Linked DNA regions of Homo sapiens: region 2 is linked to region 1. Evidence: promoter capture Hi-C in 16 types of primary human blood cells and fetal thymus (Javierre and others, 2016). All regions are on one chromosome and are shown on one strand. Each heading gives the region's core, a stretch centred on a gene start or on the middle of the fragment in contact. The rest is flanking DNA. Distances are from core to core; before and after follow the strand shown.

Region 1 (6,696 bases), core at 749-3,248:
GATTACAGGCATGAGCTACCGTGCCTGGCCAGGCCCCCTGCCTTTGTAAATAAATTTTCACTGGAACCTGGACACACTTGTTTATGTGTTGTTTGTGCCTGTTTTCACGCTGCGGCAGGAAAGTTGAGTCGTTGTGTCAGAGACCAGAGAGAGAGCCTGCAGAACCTCAAATACTATCTGGCCCTTGCCAGAAAAAGTTTACCAACCCCCTGCCTCCCTGGAATGGGTGGAGGGTGGTTGTAAAGGTACTGGAGGATCTGAAGACATAATAGGGTCCGTGACCCTTGTGAGGTTGTGAAGCTCCCTTAAGGCACATGGTGGCTGGGCTGTGGATTTGGGGTATGGGCAGAGAGTGTGGAGAGCACTTCCAGGGGCCATGTCTGAGAGACTACATGATGCCACTTTGAATGCCCAGTTTGTTCATCCTTTTCTGTTTTCCCCACTTCCCCAGATGGGTGATCTACAATGACCAGAAAGTGTGTGCCTCCGAGAAGCCGCCCAAGGACCTGGGCTACATCTACTTCTACCAGAGAGTGGCCAGCTAAGAGCCTGCCTCACCCCTTACCAATGAGGGCAGGGGAAGACCACCTGGCATGAGGGAGAGGGGCTGAGGGATGGACTTCAGCCCCTCTGCTCTGTACCCTTTTTCCTTTTGTCCCCGGCAGCAGGGAAGAAGCTGGAGGCCGTGGGAGAATGGCTGGGCAGAGCAGAGGGGCAGCGATAGACTCTGGGGATGGAGCAGGACGGGGACGGGAGGGGCCGGCCACCTGTCTGTAAGGAGACTTTGTTGCTTCCCCTGCCCCCGGAATCCACAGTGCTCTGCTTCTCTGTGTCGCCCCGCCCAGCCCCCTGGTGTGGAGGGAGGGGTCTCGTTTGTGCGCGTGGGTGTAGCTTTGTGCATCCTCTCCCAGTGGAGCGATCACCTGTGCCTCCCCTCCCCCTTTGTTTGCCCCTGTGTGGTTGGTCAAGGAGGGATGTGAGGGAAATAGGGACCCCCCGACTTGCCCTCCTGCCTCAGTCTTTCCCCCACCCTGTCTCTTCCTTGTCCTTCTCTGGAAAATGCCAAAATACACGATGTGAATAAAAGTACAACGGCTAAATTGTGTCCTGTTTGATACCTTGGGGGAGAGGCTTACCTTCCTGGGGTTAGCAGGAGGGCGCTTAAGAAAACTCCTAACTCTGGCCGCCTCCCTGCCAAAGTCAAGTCTCCACTTTTCACTGGTTCTAGAGCTCTAGGAAAATTGGGGTTGGGTGGGGAGGTGGAGTAGAGTGACTAAATGCCGACACAAAGCCAAGGAAAGATGGAGTGAAGAACCCTTCCCTCTCTTTATTCACACAGGAGTGGAGGATTTCCCAAATGTCCCTAACTGGCTAGCTGGCTTCAGGCTGGGACTCAGTCCCTGCAGTTCCTGCCAGGCCTTGCCAGCCGGGGCGAGGGTTGGGATGATCCTGGCGGCCTATGCCTGTGTGGGCTGCCCCTCCCGCTGTGAACCCTGCATTTGTCCCGCAAGTTTTCACTCAGGTAGACTCCCTGGGTACAAGGGTGCCTGCTCAGCAGTCGGGCATGAGCTGCTCCGATGGGCGAAGGAGGTTGTCTATCCCACAGTTGGAGAGGGGCCCTCTCTGCCCCAGTGGGCGATCTGGGCTACGGCCAAGTTGCCACCAGCTAGTTCCGCTTGAAAACCACTTCTGGCCCCGTGGGGGACTCAAGTCGCCAAGCGAGGGTTCCCCTGAGCGCCGGAGCTCACAGGTCTCGCCTTGTCCCGAAAGCCCCGCAATCGAGGCGGAGGCGACCGAGCCCCCGACTCTCCTAGAACGTTGCCACAAGAAGGGGGAACGTCGGAACAGTGCATCATCGGGCGGCGGCCGGGGCGGCGGCAGGAGGGCGGGCGGGGGGCAGGGCTCCGGGGGACTGGGCGGGCCATGGCGGAGGACGGCGAGGAGGCGGAGTTCCACTTCGCGGCGCTCTATATAAGTGGGCAGTGGCCGCGACTGCGCGCAGACACTGACCTTCAGCGCCTCGGCTCCAGCGCCATGGCGCCCTCCAGGAAGTTCTTCGTTGGGGGAAACTGGAAGATGAACGGGCGGAAGCAGAGTCTGGGGGAGCTCATCGGCACTCTGAACGCGGCCAAGGTGCCGGCCGACACCGGTAAGCCCTCGCCGAGGAGGGGTCTGGCCGGGCCGGGGCCGGGGCCGGGGCAGGAGTGGCAGCGCCCTCTCCCGAGGCCCCGAGGCCCCGAGGCCGGTATCCGCGCGGACCTGATGCAGGGCTGTGGGACGAGGGCCGCTGGGGTCCGGGCAGGGGCCTCGCAGCCGCAGCCCCGTCGGTGCGTCGAGGGGGCAGGGCGGAGCACATGATGCCCCTTGGACTATGGGGCAGGTAAGGACGTTTTGGGTCTCCTGGAGGAAGGTGGCCCCGGGGCGCGCACTGGGGCTGTGCCCGCCAGGCGACGGGGTTAGGAGCGGAGCCCGAGGCTCTGCGGGAGACCGGGGGAGGCTGGGCCGCGTGGGCTTCCCGCTCCCTGCGCCCTGGCCTCCCGCGCCGTGCGCCGCCGCACGTAGCCCCAGACTCCTCCCCTTCCTCGCCGGCGTCCGCGTCCCCGCGCCGAGCTGCTCGGGCTCCCTGAGCCCCAGATCTGACCCCTTCCCTTCGGCAACCTGAACGACTCCCGCCTTCCACGGAAGGGACCGAGCCCGTGCCAAACAGGCTGAGCGATTTGGGAGTGAGGAGCCATCCTACCGCTTTCCCCAACCTGGAAACAGCAAAGCGCAAGGCCTCTGAGTCAGTTAGGTCTCTGCCACCCACGGGCAAAGGATGCTCTCCTCCATCCTCCTTCCTCCCTCCACCGAAATCGGAGAGCCGCGGGCCTGATCCAAAGAGGCATCCCCTTCTCGTTCATTCCCCAGAGGCCTCAATACAAACCCCAGGAGTTGGCCCCTCTCCTTTTGCTACAAATCCTTGCCTTGCAAAGGGGAGGTGAGGATGGGCTATTTTAGAAGGGAAGCAGGGTTGCTCCCTGGAGAATGCTGAGTCTGTGAGGTGCCTATGCCGAGAATAGCTCGAGGAAATTGGAGCCCCAGCTGTTAAAAGAGCAGAGGGCAGGGTGAGGGCCGTGGCCTCTCAGGGGTATCTGGAAGGCTCTTCGAGTTGAGTGCAGACCCAGCCTGGGCTGGAAAATGGACAAAGGTCATCTTGCTGGGGTGAAAAGGGGGAGAGCAGAACCAAGAAGAAGAGGGTGAGGGCTGGGGGGCTCCAGGGCACTGGTTAGGAATTGTGGGGAATGAAGGCTTTCTTTAGTCTCATCCCCCTGTGGTACCATCTTGTCCTCAGAGGTGGTTTGTGCTCCCCCTACTGCCTATATCGACTTCGCCCGGCAGAAGCTAGATCCCAAGATTGCTGTGGCTGCGCAGAACTGCTACAAAGTGACTAATGGGGCTTTTACTGGGGAGATCAGGTGAGATCGAGGTGGAGAGGGGTGTGTGGGACCCTTCCCTCACTTTCCTCGTTGAGGGGAAAGCCACAGGGTGGGCTCCCTGCTGAACCTTGGCTTCATCTCTTCCTTTAGCCCTGGCATGATCAAAGACTGCGGAGCCACGTGGGTGGTCCTGGGGCACTCAGAGAGAAGGCATGTCTTTGGGGAGTCAGATGAGGTTAGTAGCCAAGAGAGAAGATAAGGGATGTCTTTTTCCAAGAAGGATGTCTCACCAAGTCTGTTTCTCAACAGCTGATTGGGCAGAAAGTGGCCCATGCTCTGGCAGAGGGACTCGGAGTAATCGCCTGCATTGGGGAGAAGCTAGATGAAAGGGAAGCTGGCATCACTGAGAAGGTTGTTTTCGAGCAGACAAAGGTCATCGCAGGTATCTCTGGAGAAAGGGACCTTTGAGCCTATCCAGGGCCACAGAGACTCAGAGGGTAGGGTCAGGCCCTGGAGCCTGTCTTGGTCCCCATGCTGATCCAGAAAAGGAAAAAGGGGAGGGGGAGTGACAATCTTTGCTTGGGGCCTATGACTTCTCCAGCCCCAAGGTAGATGCCACCTGGAAATCCCCCAATGTCCACTAGGGGGCAGTAGGCCACCGTTCTTCGTACTCCGGAGAACCTGGCTGGAGAGCTCTTTCTTGTTCACCCTTCCCTCCATCTGTATCTCTGCCCTGCAGATAACGTGAAGGACTGGAGCAAGGTCGTCCTGGCCTATGAGCCTGTGTGGGCCATTGGTACTGGCAAGACTGCAACACCCCAACAGGTAACCGGGCCCAGGAGCCCTGCCCTCATCCCAGCCTGCCTCAATAGGTTTGGACAGACACAGCCCACATGGGGCAACCCCTTATTTCAAAGACACAGAGACCTTGAACCCAGAGACAGTGACTTGTCCAAGGGCATCCAGTCCAGGGCCTGGCTTGGATCAGAGCCCTGGTACTCTGACTCAGTCAGAAACCACACTAAGTGTCCACTGGTGCCAGTGATTTTTCCTCTTAGAGAGGCAGAAAAGGTCTTACTTAGGCCAGCTTCTTGTTCTAGGCCCAGGAAGTACACGAGAAGCTCCGAGGATGGCTGAAGTCCAACGTCTCTGATGCGGTGGCTCAGAGCACCCGTATCATTTATGGAGGTGAGTGGCTTTGGTTCCCGGCTGAGGTGGAGTGGGCTGAGGACTAGACTGAGCCCTCGGACATGGAGGTGGGGATGGGGCAGACTCATCCCATTCTTGACCAAGCCCTTGTTCTGCTCCCTTCCCAGGCTCTGTGACTGGGGCAACCTGCAAGGAGCTGGCCAGCCAGCCTGATGTGGATGGCTTCCTTGTGGGTGGTGCTTCCCTCAAGCCCGAATTCGTGGACATCATCAATGCCAAACAATGAGCCCCATCCATCTTCCCTACCCTTCCTGCCAAGCCAGGGACTAAGCAGCCCAGAAGCCCAGTAACTGCCCTTTCCCTGCATATGCTTCTGATGGTGTCATCTGCTCCTTCCTGTGGCCTCATCCAAACTGTATCTTCCTTTACTGTTTATATCTTCACCCTGTAATGGTTGGGACCAGGCCAATCCCTTCTCCACTTACTATAATGGTTGGAACTAAACGTCACCAAGGTGGCTTCTCCTTGGCTGAGAGATGGAAGGCGTGGTGGGATTTGCTCCTGGGTTCCCTAGGCCCTAGTGAGGGCAGAAGAGAAACCATCCTCTCCCTTCTTACACCGTGAGGCCAAGATCCCCTCAGAAGGCAGGAGTGCTGCCCTCTCCCATGGTGCCCGTGCCTCTGTGCTGTGTATGTGAACCACCCATGTGAGGGAATAAACCTGGCACTAGGTCTTGTGGTTTGTCTGCCTTCACTGGACTTGCCCAGATAATCTTCCTTTTTGAGGCAGCTATATAAATGATCATTTGTGCAAGAAAAAAAAAAAAACAAGAACAGGTTTCTATAACAACATCTCTTACTATTTTTACTTGAAAAAATGTTTTGCGTAGCAGACTGTCATAGCCTTGAACGCCGGCTCCCTTTCTTCCTCCCTCCAAGTGGCTCTGGGGCTGTTGATTTCCGCAGAGCTTGGGTTGGGGTAGGGGCTCAGCCTCACCAGCTTTCAGCAGCTGGTCTAGGCCAGCAGTGCCTCCCCACCTCCCCAAGGGGAGGGGTGGTGGCAAGACCTCAGCACAGTCTGTGGTATCACAGGGCTCACTGGTAGAGCAGGTAGCGCTTCATGGCAGGGGGCAAGGGCAGGGCAGACACCTGGCCGAGCCGGGTATCCCCCAGGTTGTGGCGCACACACAGGCGGCTCAGGTGCAGAAGGGAGTGTGGCTCCGCTGGGAGAGAGAAGGAGGGGAATGTAAGTATGGGTGCAGCCACCAGCCAGATGTCCTCAAACTACGGGGTCCTACTCAGATGCCTTTCTGCTTTCCTGCTTCGAGTGTGCCCACCTGGCTGAAAGGGGAATTTGAGATACCCGGAAGTTCTGCCTCCCAGATAAGATTTCACACATCCCTAGTCAGAGCTGGGGGTGAAGAGCTGGCTAAGGCCCTCTAAACAACAGGCCAAGGTGGCTCTGACAGTGGTGGAGCTGGCCCAGGCTTTGACTCCAGAGGCTTGGGAGCTGGGGCTGAGGTGAGGAGGGATGGCCCTCCACTCTACAGCCCACACAACTGCAGAGAGCAGCTCCAAGCCCTGGACCCAGTCAGTTCCTGGGGAGGCTCCTCCCCTGCTGCCCCACCCTAAGGCCCTGCCTCCTCCACTGCTCTCCTCCCTGGTGCCCAGGGCCCCAGTGTCTCCATCCAGAGGTGTGGCTGAGGAAGGAAGTAGGTATGTGGCACAGAGACAGGTTAGAGCCCAGGGAATCCGGTATACAGCCTGGGTACCTGGCTCTGCCCATCCTTCTTTTGGACCTGTACATCAAACCCAGTACCTAACGCTTTGCACCTCTTGCTCAGGGGTTGATATCTCCTGAATTCTCTCATCCCTGCAGTTCCTCCCTCCATTCTGAAGGTTCACCATTTACTGGCCAAGAGAACTTGAGAAAGTTGCTTTCTCAAGCCTGTTTCACCTCTATTGCTGTTGGGTTAAATTAAATAACAGCTGTGAAGACCCCTAGCCTTTCCCAGCACTGAACAGAGGTTGAGGCAGGCTGGATGAAGGTCCATCCCCTCTGCTCTTGTCAGAAGAGTTTCCATCCCAAACCACTGCCACCAGGGACAGAAAGTTCTCCCCACGTCTGCCCC
Region 2 (2,947 bases), core at 448-2,947, 110 kb after region 1:
GTGAGACAGGGTCCCACCGTGTTGCCCAGGCCGGTCTCAAATTCCTGGGCTCAAGTGATCCTTCCACCTCGGCCTCCTAAAGTGTTGGGATCACAGGCATAAGCCACCACACCTGGCTACTTTGTCTTGATTCCATCTGTACCTTTGCTCATGCCAGTCTTTCTTTTTTCTTTTTTTTGAGACAGGGTCTTGCTGGAGTGCAGTGGTACAGTCTTGGCTCACTGCAATCTCTGTCTCCTGGGCTCAAGCCATCCTCCCACCTTAGCCTCCCAAGTAGCTAGGACTACAGGCATGTGCCACCATGCCCAGCTAATTTTTGTATTTTTAGTAGAGATGGGGTTTCGCCATGTTGCCCAGGCTGGTCTTGAACTCCTGACCTTAAGTGATTTGCCTGCCTTGGCCTCCCAGAGTGCTGGGATTACAGCCGTGAGCCACTGCATCTGCCCCCATGCCCGTCTTAAAACTGGGAATAACCCCTCTTCCTTTTACTTCTGAGAGTTTTCTTTGATTAAACTGCCTCCTGCATCATTAGTTTTCACATTTCTTTTTTTTGAGATGGAGTCTCGCTCTGTTGCCCGGGCTGGAGTGCAGTGGCGCTGCAAGCTCCGCCTCCTGGGTTCATGCCATTCTCCTGCCTCTGCCTCCCAAGTAGCTGGGACTACAGGCGCCTGCCACCATGCCCGGCTAATTTTTTATATTTTTAGTAGAGATGGGGTTTCACCGTGTTAGCCACGATGGTCTCAATCTCCTGACCTTGTGATCTGCCCGCCTCGGCCTCCCAAAGTGCTGGGATTACAGGCGTGAGCCACCACGCCCGGCCTTCACATTTCTTGTTCAGATTTGCAGCTCTTCACTTAGTGCATGTTTGGTGTACGCAAACTGAGGGTGGTGACTCGATATTTTGCACAGTACCTACTTACTGCTCCTGTAATAAACACAGCATTCAGCCTTGCTAACTACTAACTCCTGCCTAGTTCCAGGATGTCTCATTGGCCTTGCCTAACAGCCACAGGTTTTTTAATTAAATCCAGTGTATTAGTAGATAATGTGAAGTCACAGGTTGTGCCCTTCCTCCTGTTTCCCTCTCAGACCATTCACTGGGGAGTGCAAATAAGGCTGCACAGTAATCCCCCGAAGGGCTTGCTGGGCTCCACCCCCAGTGTTCCTGGTTTAGTAGGTCTAGGGTGGGCCTGAGAATTTGCCTAACAAGTTTCCAGGTGCAGCTGCTGCTGGTAGTTTGGGGACCACACTTGAAGAACCACGGGGCTAGGTAACAGAAGCTTATGCTGTTCTCTCGTCATGTTCCCTGTTCTTCAGGTAGGGAAGACATATGAGCTACTCAACTGTGACAAGCACAAGTCTATATTGTTGAAGAATGGACGGGACCCTGGGGAAGCGCGGCCAGATATCACCCACCAGGTAACTCCAGGGACAGTGCTCACAACCCTTTGAGCCTCTGTATGGAAGGGTTGGCAGCTGAGTGCTGCCTCTCTTCAGCCTTAACCATGTCTCGGTTTCTGCTTTGCTCAGAGTTTGCTGATGCTGATGGATAGTCCCCTGAACCGAGCTGGCTTGCTACAGGTTTATATCCATACACAGAAGAATGTTCTGATTGAAGTGAATCCCCAGACCCGAATTCCCAGAACCTTTGACCGCTTTTGTGGCCTCATGGGTAAGAAGCCTTAGAACAAAGTTAGAATGAACTTGTCAGTAGGGAAGAAGGGAGGAAGAGGAAAAGGGAGAACTAAATGTGGATTTTTAAGCGAGAAAATGGGAGAACAACATGATTAATACCAGGACAAGGACTGTTATTATTTTTCTATGTTTGTGGAAACTCCACTCCTGTTCTTGCAGTAGCTTCCTGGCTGAGTGAAAGAGGGAGTCTGAACCCATCACTGTACAGCTAGCCATATGCTTGGCAACTGTTTGTTCCTAACATTTCAGGAGTCCAGTCTAGATATAAAGCACACAGGGAACTCATCTTATCCATGGGGTTTTCCTTGTTCGATGACTGGACAGAAGGACTGTGGTCTCCATCTAGCTCTGAACTCTTTTTTCCCCCTTCTAGTTCAACTTTTACACAAGCTCAGTGTTCGAGCAGCTGATGGCCCCCAGAAGCTTTTGAAGGTGAGGTATTGAAACCTGTTAGTTGAAGGCTGGTTCTGGGAATGTTTCTGGGGCTGACTTTTCTCTCTTTTTTACTTTAGGTAATTAAGAATCCAGTATCAGATCACTTTCCAGTTGGATGTATGAAAGTTGGCACTTCTTTTTCCATCCCGGTTGTCAGTGATGTGCGTGAGCTGGTGCCCAGCAGTGATCCTATTGTTTTTGTGGTAGGGGCCTTTGCCCATGGCAAGGTAAGGTCTGGGCTCAACCCTGAAATTCTTGGTAGAGCTGAACTTAGTATAGAATTCCCAGAGCAGTAGGCATTTTAACAATGCTTACAATGAGCTAGAAGACACATGACAGTTCCACACCCTGCCCCAGGGCACATCCTTTGAGGGCTGCTGCCATAATTGGAAGTCACAGTTAGGACCTTCTTCATCCTTTGTAGGGATTTGATATTCAACAGCACAGCTGAAATACTAGCTCAGCCATAGTTTTCCTGCCCTAAAGAAGGGCTGAAACAGCTACTGAGTGACAGAGTTGGCTGACAAAACTGTTCTTTTCTTAGGTCAGTGTGGAGTATACAGAGAAGATGGTGTCCATCAGTAACTACCCCCTTTCTGCTGCCCTCACCTGTGCAAAACTTACCACAGCCTTTGAGGAAGTATGGGGGGTCATTTGACAGTAGTAGAACCTGTTCTGAAACCAGAAACTGTTGATGTCACATCCTTTGACCCTGGTCTGAGCTGACTGCTGGAAGATGATCTTTCTGCACTGAGACTGTGGAGTTTGGGGAAGCCAAGGCTGTACATTTGCTATTTGTTTATCCTATGAATACTGT

Evidence for each region. Contacts are between HindIII fragments. The CHiCAGO score rates a contact against its expected background, and 5 or more counts as called.
Region 2: a fragment that was not itself captured here is called in contact with the fragment with the promoter of TPI1 in region 1 in 6 of 17 cell types (total CD8 T cells, naive CD4 T cells, activated CD4 T cells and 3 more); the score reaches 7.6 in total CD8 T cells.

Annotation. Positions count from the first base shown.
Region 1 is chr12:6,865,533-6,872,228 of GRCh38, forward strand. TPI1 (triosephosphate isomerase 1) reads left to right here and starts at 1,999. Exons shown (of 7, transcript NM_000365.6): 1 at 1,999-2,149; 2 at 3,332-3,455; 3 at 3,567-3,651; 4 at 3,726-3,858; 5 at 4,156-4,241; 6 at 4,517-4,604; 7 at 4,733-5,416. The coding sequence starts at 2,035. The coding sequence ends at 4,851. It overlaps USP5 (ubiquitin specific peptidase 5), which reads left to right. Exons shown (of 20, transcript NM_001098536.2): 20 at 452-1,100. The coding sequence ends at 545. SPSB2 (splA/ryanodine receptor domain and SOCS box containing 2) reads right to left here. Exons shown (of 3, transcript NM_032641.4): 3 at 5,403-5,787. The coding sequence ends at 5,660. RefSeq lists enhancers at 252-914, 915-1,576, 5,189-5,774 and silencers at 1,846-1,895, 2,166-2,605, 6,431-6,550. The HindIII fragment of the contact is 21,039 bases long and covers 1-6,696 here.
Region 2 is chr12:6,973,022-6,975,968 of GRCh38, forward strand. It overlaps EMG1 (EMG1 N1-specific pseudouridine methyltransferase), which reads left to right. Exons shown (of 6, transcript NM_006331.8): 2 at 1,318-1,419; 3 at 1,531-1,672; 4 at 2,069-2,127; 5 at 2,208-2,357; 6 at 2,675-2,947. The coding sequence ends at 2,788. Among named protein-coding and RNA genes, the nearest start is that of EMG1, 3.6 kb to the left of the region's middle. The HindIII fragment of the contact is 838 bases long and covers 1,279-2,116 here.